Regions from separate parts of the Homo sapiens genome. Here region 1 is linked to region 2. Evidence: promoter capture Hi-C in human tissues and cell types (Jung and others, 2019). All regions are on one chromosome and are shown on one strand. Each heading gives the region's core, a stretch centred on a gene start or on the middle of the fragment in contact. The rest is flanking DNA. Distances are from core to core; before and after follow the strand shown. Region 1 overlaps ARHGAP21 (Rho GTPase activating protein 21). Region 2 holds the start of GPR158 (G protein-coupled receptor 158).

Region 1 (4,013 bases), core at 751-3,250, 550 kb after region 2:
CATTGACTCAAAGATTAAATTTTAAGTTAATCGGTTTTTATAACTCTGGAGATTCTTGGGTATAACTAATATTTGGCCAGGACATTTTAAACCTACTTTATGCTGTTCTATGTTAAACACAGCAAAGTTAAACAGCATGTCTGGTATAATAAGGAAGAAAGCAAATGGTATAAGGATTTGAACTCGGGCGGGTCTGAGATGAAAGCCTGTACTCTAAACCACAGTCCTATACTGCTGTTGAGTGGAGATGAACTGTTTAGGTGGCTTACCATAAGTCACCCTGCCAGTTGGTGTTGGAGCTGTTATTACAACGTGAACCTCTGGGTTCTGAGTCCAGTGTTCTTTTTTGCTGCTCTATGGATATGTGATAATTTGAAAAATGTAATTTAAACTAAGTTTTTCTTGAAGTTTATTAGAATTACTTTTAAAATAAGCATTTCATGTGTTCTATTATCAGTACAATATCCTATTTAAGTAGCCATTTGTCAAGTGTACATGTAGGTGGTCCGGCCTAGAGTGAGGGAAGCAAGAGTATGAATTCTGGAGGGTTCTTTCATATTTTGCAGGTTAGCAGCAGTTTACTTTGTAATTTTTTAAAATCTATTTTTAAATAATTACAAGAATAGTATGTGCTGGTTGAAAATATTTGAAATAATGCAGAAAGGTATAATAAAAAGAAAGTCCTTCTCCATCTACACCATCCCCTTCTCCCATTCCCTATGCTGGCATGGTTGGCATCTACCAACAAACATGAAGTTACTCTTGCTTTTATCATAGGTAAAGGCATTAAATTAATAACCTGTTAAAGGTGAACTGAAAGGCAGGAATTTTAATCTTACCACCTTATTTATTCTTCAGGTTTTTTTTTTTTTTTTTTTTTTTTCTCTGTTTCATTTTGTTTACCATTTATCATAGGTATGGTCATGGTGATTTTGATGTGACTGTATAAAAAATGAACTAGAGATTATTTTAGGGTTATTTAGTTACTATTAGGCATTGTACATATAATCAAGATCCAGGCTGTTAATATTAAGTTGTATTTAACATACTGTTTGGAGTTCTAATTACAAAGAAAGAATTCTTTGGGTCATCTTTCTTATTTTCTTCCTCCTCCTCCTCCCCCCCCCCCCCCACTTTTTAGAGCTTTTTGTATCTAATAGGCAAAACAGGGCTGTTAGGGAAGGCTTCAGTTTTTAAAATACAAGCTGTTAAACTCCAAAAGGTGTAATACTTAAGTACAAGGGTAAAGAAAGCTCAAGAAGGAATGTGAAGTGGTATACAAAAAGGCTGAGTGGAAAAAATGGCTAAAAATGTTTTGTCATATTCTGTTGAATTCACAAGAGCTAGTAAATTGGGAAAAATTTAAATGTTGTCTGATTCTATCAAAACACTTTCATATGTTGTAAAGTATCCATTTGGGCTTAAAGCCTAACTAAAATTCAAAATTGTTAATACTGAATATGTAATTCTTATGACATTGGTTTCAAAAATAATATTCCTCCCCAAATTTGAATAAAGGAGATAGCTTTAAAATATTAGTTCTACCCGGGCTCGGTGGTTCACACCTGTAATCCTGGCACTTTGGGAGTCCGAGGCAGGTGGATCACTTGAGGTCAGGAGTTCGAGACCAACCTGGCGAACATAGTGAAACCCCACCTCCATTAAAAATACAAAAATTAGCTGAGCATGGTGGCTCATGCCTGTAATCCCAGCTACTCAGGAGGCTGAGGCAGGAGAATTGCTTGAACCTGGGAGGCACAGGTTGCAGTGAGCCAAGATTGCGCCACTGCACTCCAGCCTGGGCAACAGAGTGAGACTCGGTCTCAAAAAAAAAAAAAAAAAAAAGTTCTAGAACAGCATTTCCCAGGCAGATATTCTAATTATTTTAAAATCTCTGGGGAAAAAAATGGGTTCCCTGGCGAGTAAGTTTGTACTTTTGAGTTTCACAATGTACATTTTGTGAAAAATGTTCTTGAATGAATTCATATTTTATCTCAACCATATCTGCTTACATTAGATAATAGTACTGCATGTGTGAGATGTTCACTGTTAATGCCTGCATTTGTATGGATTTCAGGGCCCCTTGTGATAACTTAACTCAGAAGTGGGGACCTGTGACTGTAATGTAGACTATTTAGCATTTAGAATTGCCATACAGGAATATTAGAGATGTCTGAAGTATGTAAAATATTCTCAAGTTTTAATAGTTCCAGCCGTATACTTCTATTACTAAACAGTAATATTTCTTCCCAAATTTGAATAAAGGAGTCATCTTTAAAATATTAGTTCTAGAATAGCATTACCCAAGTAGATATTCTAATTATGTTAAAACCTCTGGGAAAAAAATGGCCTCCATGGTGAATAAGTTTATATTTTCCTTTCGAATTTCACAATGTACATTAGTGTCGTCGTGGTTTTGAGAAATCAAAAAGCTTGCCAAGTGGCCCTACATCATTGACCATAGGGACCTCCTCTCCCCCATCCTCCTTTTCAGGTGGTATATAATAAAACTACACAAGGATGTTGTGGGAAATGCTGTACCAGACAGTACAGTATTCTCTCATCCAGACACAATTTTCCTATTGCAGAAAAGTATTGGTATGATTCTAATCAGCATGGAAAAGATAGACTTGGTGTGTCAATGCACACACCCAAAATGCATGTTGGGATTAACTGTATTCATGCCATAAAAATACTATGTAGACATATTTTATTTTATATGGCTAGCTTTAATTTGTCACTGCATTCTAGTCTCTGTTCTATAATATTTATTATAGGTTAACAAGAATTACTCTGGAAGTAATATTTTTATGTCTATCCAGTAGTTATTTTTGCAAACTAATACAATAGTACAAAAGGCACAGTGTTGAAAGATCTTAATTTTTGAGTGAAACTTACTTAAAAGAAGTCATTTTCCCCCCTGAATCTTAGTGTAAAGGCAGCTGCAGTCTGCTGACAGCTTGTGGTTATGCTCTGATTTACTGGGGAAGGAGGAGGTTGTACTATTTTAAATGCATAATAGAGCATTCGTTTCGTCATCTGGAAGCAGAGATGGAAGAAGCTGGGGGGAAATGAGAGACATCACTGTTGCTTTCGTGGAGGGAAGCTTTGTAGCATGTTATCAGACAGCAGTGCATATTGAAGAAAATATCTGTTAGGAATGCATGTCACCAGATGTATTTTGCTTTCAAGAATGGTAGACACATCAAACAAGAATCAGATAAAAGCCTGAGAAAAAGATGTTCAGAAGAATACTGGAGTTATTCTTTATGCTTCACTGCCCTTTACCTCTCTTGGTACCTTCCAGAGAAACAAGTATAGATGTATTTTTAGCTTGCCGTTTCCAGCATCAATATGACAACATGATTTTGTCTTTATATCAGTAAGCAGCTTCTACTATGTTTTCCTATTTTCTGCTAGCTACAGTTTACAAAGGATGTCACAGCACTGGTAAGAAATGCACAGTAGCCATTTCCTTGCTTTTTAAGTCATGTTTTGTAGAGATTTGTAATAAGCCAATCTATTAAAAACTGTTCACTTTTGCTTAGAGAAATCCCTCTATCGTGTTAATCTTACTAATTTGCAGAATACGTTTGTGATAGATGGTTTGCCATCCTTATTTTTTATTTTTATGTTTGGTTTTCTTTTGTATCCTGTACATAACTGATGCTACAGCGTAATATTTATCTGCATCAGTATATATATATATATATATATATATATATATATATATATATATATATATATATGTTTTTTAAGTATCTCACCCTCTTCCTGTCACTACTACTTTGCTGTTACGTTTGTGGCTGCACTTGAGCTTTGCAAGCTGTCGAATGCAAAGAGCAGGATGTGATGATAGTCTTGAGTTAAGCTTGTTTTGATTAGGGGAAGATGTGTTACCACATCTGTCTCAGATGCTGAACATAGTCCCTGTGTTGCACTGATGAGCTCTGTTTTGTAAAGTCTCTATAGTTGATTTCTGTTATTCTTAAGGCTTTAAAAATATTGCTGAA
Region 2 (4,174 bases), core at 1,129-3,628:
ATGGGACTAAGGGAAGATCTCAGTTCATCTTGGGCCCTCTCCTAAGCCCTCTTTGGTGTAACTACTCTTTCAGTTCCTTCCTCACATCTACTCTTAAAGGTTGCTTCTAGAAATTCCCCGCCTCAAAGGTCAGGCACTTCCCAGGCAGAAGTTAAAACCTGTTAATTTGCAAATTCTCTGCTTCCCTCAAATGCTATAGTTTGAGACAGGAAGTACAGACTCCCTTAAGTTTCCTCCAGCCTCCTTGAGTGAATTCAGTCACAACTGATGCCTCCCTCCCGAATATAACTAGGTCCTTTTATAAATCATGTGAGTGTGTGAAGGGCTGGAGAACCCTTAAGTATGCCTAAGACAGGGAAGAGGAGGAAAAGGCCACCGAGGAAGGAAAGATCAATTGCGGGGAGAGGGGAGACCGGTAGAAGGAGCACCCTGACCAAGCTGCAAAGTCTGGATCCCAGAGACAGCTAGCTGCTGGGACTGACTCACTGCTGAGGGGCCGGAACTGCGAGGAGATGGCACAGTTTTAATTATAAGCTCTGACTAACAACAGACCGGTGCCCCCAACTGCACACGTAGGAAGCAGGCAGAGGCTACCCCAAAGTGGCAGAAACAAGGAACTCTCTGTTCCTCCTGCTCCCTTTTCGCCTCTCATCTGAGGCTTGCCACTCCGCGGACACACCCGGCGCTCGCCAAGTTGTCGCATCGCCCCCCGGTGGGGAACGCCCCTCCCTGCTCTCCGGACAATTGGAGGGAAGCACAGAGCAGCGGGGGTGTCTCCGTCCTGCCAAGGGCTGCCTGTCCCTCGCCCAGTGCGGGGAAACTGGTCCGAGAGAATGAATGGCTTTCGCCGAGCGCCGGAAGCTGACGGGCGTGGGGCGCTTCTTGCCCCCAAGCACCCGCGCCCGCGTGGGGTGTCCCTCAGCCCGGGTCTCTACTCTGAGGGTGAGAAGCGTTCGCGTCACAGCCAAGGGTTCCTTCCTCACACGTGCACCCACCCACAAGACCGGAAGGAAAGCTTCGCTTTTGCCTTCCCCCCTGCCCCCCGGCCCTCCCTACCTGAATTCCGGGACCAGGTTAGGCTGCAACCCGTAGATGGCAGAGGAAAGAGTAACCAGCCACCCGGGCTTGTAACTCCCGTTCTCGCACTCCAGATAAGGCGGAGACCACTTGAAGTGGCTCTTGTCCCCGCCGAGCCCGTCCTTGCGCCGCCAGCTGTGGCCCAGGCCCCGGGGCCCCTGATTGGGGCCGCGGCGGTGTAAGTGGGGCCTCCACTTGCGCCGGAGGCCGTGGAACCACTCGGTCTCCAGAGTGGCGTTGGCCAGGTGGGGTGCGGAGGAGGACAGGTCTTGGAGCAGGATGCGGCTCTCCTCGCGCGTGGCCTGGAGGAAGACCTGTGGGGCCGGTGCGGACAGCGAATCGGTGCTGAAGGTGATGGCCGCCCGGGAGATGCTGGGCTCGCCCTCCAGAAGGCTCCACACCAGCGCCTGGTACCAATCCAGGTCGTCCTGCAAGTTCTGCTCCCGCGACTTATTGCTCTGCAGCATCACGTTGAGGAAGTTGGTGGCGTGTGTCAGTGTGTCCAGCGCCCGGTGCAAGGAGGGGTGCGCGCTGGCCAGGGCTGGCCACTTCCCCGGCAGGCCCGCCAACTCGTAGCGGCCGGAGCAGTTGGCTCGCTTCAGCTGGTGGGAGTCCCCGGTGTAGAGGTAAGAGGCCACGTCCATGGGCACCTCCTCGGCGAGTTTCTGCGCCAAGATGGTGCCATCGGTGGAGCGGCTCCAGGGAGCCGAGGAGTCCGAGGCAGAGGCTCGACCCGGCTGCTGGGCGTGCGGCTTCCCCTTCGGGGTCCTCTCTCGAGGGGAATCCGGCCGTCCTTGGGGGTCGCGGCTGGCGCCAACAGCTCCCAATCCCAGCTGAGCAAGCAGGAGGCAGAGGAGTAAGGGGTAAGCCATGGCTCCCATCTGCCTCCCAGAGAGAAGAGGAGGGAACGGGAGGGGGGGGAATCACTTTTTAAATTTGGATCGTCAGTTTCTCAACAGTCAGACTTTTTCGAGGAGTCTTCCCCCTTCTCCAGATGGCACCCAGTCCAAAGGACTTGAAAATAAGAATGTTTCGAGATTGGCCCCGGGTGGCTAAGCTACCGTCGCAGAAATCAAGTCACCTGTGGCAGCGCTGGCCGTGCCCGCTGCGCGAGGGGCCGGCTGGGGATTACGCACCTCGCAGCCTGGAGCCGAGCGGGTTACATGGCCTCGCGCTCCCAGCGGCTGGAGTCAGCCCGAGTCCGTCTCTCGGCCCGGCTGCCGCCACCGCCGCTCTCATTGAGGCGCGTTCAGAAGCTGCTGCTGCTGCTGCCGCCGCGGCCGCCGAAGACGCTGCTCCATAGTCTCACCCGCCGCAGGTCGTTCCCGCCTCCCGGCACTGGCTCCTCCTCGACCGCTTCGCCCGGAGGCGCGGGGCGCGCGCCCAGACCCGCACCGCGAGCGCAGCCGCGACTCCCGAGGAGCGAAGACGTCCTTTAAGACGTTCGTCTGTCCGGAGTAGCGAAGGCCGGGCGGCTGGTTAATTGCAGCCTTTAGGTTTGGCCGCAAACCACACTCCACCCTCTCTCCCTGCTCCCTCCTCGGGGGAGGAAAGCCAGTTTAAAGAGGCAGCTTGGCCGCAACCAAACCCTTGTAGGGCGGCTGCAAGTCGTCTTGTTCCCTGTTTGGTCGGCTCCTCTGTCAATCAGCCGACTGCCATTTGTGGGGCCGGGGAGGGAGCTGTCCAGTGCTGAACCCGAGGCGGCCCGCGGGCGGCGGGGGCGCGGGAGGCAGCCTGCCGAGTCCTCGCACCCACTCGCGTTCCGGATGACTCGGAAACCTGCGTGGGTGGCGTAGGGTGGGCGGCAGAGGGGGGAGAAGCAGAGATTCGGTGGCTCAGAGCGAAGGAAACTTGGACGTACTGAGGGGGAGGGTGTTGGCGTCTTGCATGCTTAGTTAAATCAGCCTTTTGCCTGGAAAAGAGGGAGAAGGGAGTAGTTTTCATTTCTAGGTGAAATTAGACAGAAGGGACATAGGATGGAGACGTGTCCTCCTGAGCATCTGCTCATTTTAGGCAAATTATCAAATCATCTTTCTTGTTGTCAGTTAAAGAAATGATTAAAACATACTTGTCTAGGCTCATCTTAGCTGAGGGAGTAATGGAGAAATCTACCAGCTGTGCTTTAAGGAGAGAAAAAAAAGTCATATTTAAGGAATCTCTGCTTGGGGGCCAGAATGGAGGGGAACGTGTAAAAATGTATGCAAGTAAAGATGTGTAAGGGAGAGAGCAAGGGGGAGGACTCATGAGCTCTGGGAGAATGAGAAGGAGCCTGTGTTGAGTGAGAAGGGAAATCATCCTGACTGGGAGTTCCTGGAATTGAGAGATAAGAACTAAGACTTCTATTTAGCTAAAGGTTGGGATATCCCAGCAGAAGAAAGAAGAACTGAGCAAGTATGCCAAGTCCCCCAAATTATTGGTAAATTTCTTAACACAATCTAATTGATGTTTTGACGCTTATTAGAGAATTTAAGTGTCTTCTGACACTCCAAAAGTAGACTGGTACCAGAAAAGTAGTGTTTTGCACAGCTAGCTCCACTTTCCATATGCACCTCTATTTTCAAATTCCCCAAGAAAGACACAAATAGAAAATATCCAACTTACTTTAATTCCCAACTAACAAAAATGTCCCTCATGGCATTCTAAGCAGGCACTGCTTAGATTCACTGTACTATTTCATGTCATCCTTCCTATTGAGAAAATACTTAAGGACTGGAATGTAAGCTCCAAAAGAGCAAAAATCTTTGTCTGCATTGGTCACTGAGGTACCTTGAGCACCCAGAACACTACCTGGCACATAGTAGGCTCTGGCTAAATAGTTGCTAAATTAGTGAATGAATGGGAAGATCATGATGATGAAGCTAACTTAAAAATCAATCTCCTCACCCAAGAAGAGAAGTCTGCCTGACACACCAGTGATGAGGGTTTTTGGAAGAAGACACAGCAACCAGTTTTTCAAACCGCAGTGGTTGGTCTCCAAATGAGTTTTTATAGTTATGCAAAGAGTGGTTATTAGATTTATATTTACTTACAAGTAGATTTCATGTTCATTTCCGACTTTTTGTTTAAATTTTTCTTTGCAATGTATGCTCCTATGCTA

The links. The method cuts DNA at HindIII sites, captures the fragments that hold promoters and counts their contacts. A contact is called where the count stands out against the background at its distance.
Region 1: a fragment that was not itself captured here is called in contact with the fragment with the promoter of GPR158 in region 2 in 1 of the 25 tissues and cell types used here (dorsolateral prefrontal cortex).

What each region holds. Positions count from the first base shown.
Region 1 is chr10:24,622,170-24,626,182 of GRCh38, reverse strand. ARHGAP21 (Rho GTPase activating protein 21) reads left to right here. Exons shown (of 26, transcript NM_020824.4): 8 at 3,421-3,450. Among named protein-coding and RNA genes, the nearest start is that of ARHGAP21, 100 kb to the left of the region's middle. The HindIII fragment of the contact is 4,722 bases long and covers 1-4,013 here.
Region 2 is chr10:25,173,205-25,177,378 of GRCh38, reverse strand. It overlaps GPR158 (G protein-coupled receptor 158), which reads right to left and starts at 2,378. Exons shown (of 11, transcript NM_020752.3): 1 at 1,057-2,378. The coding sequence starts at 1,958. It overlaps GPR158-AS1 (GPR158 antisense RNA 1), which reads left to right and starts at 1,103. Exons shown (of 2, transcript NR_027333.2): 1 at 1,103-1,703. The HindIII fragment of the contact is 11,687 bases long and covers 1-4,174 here.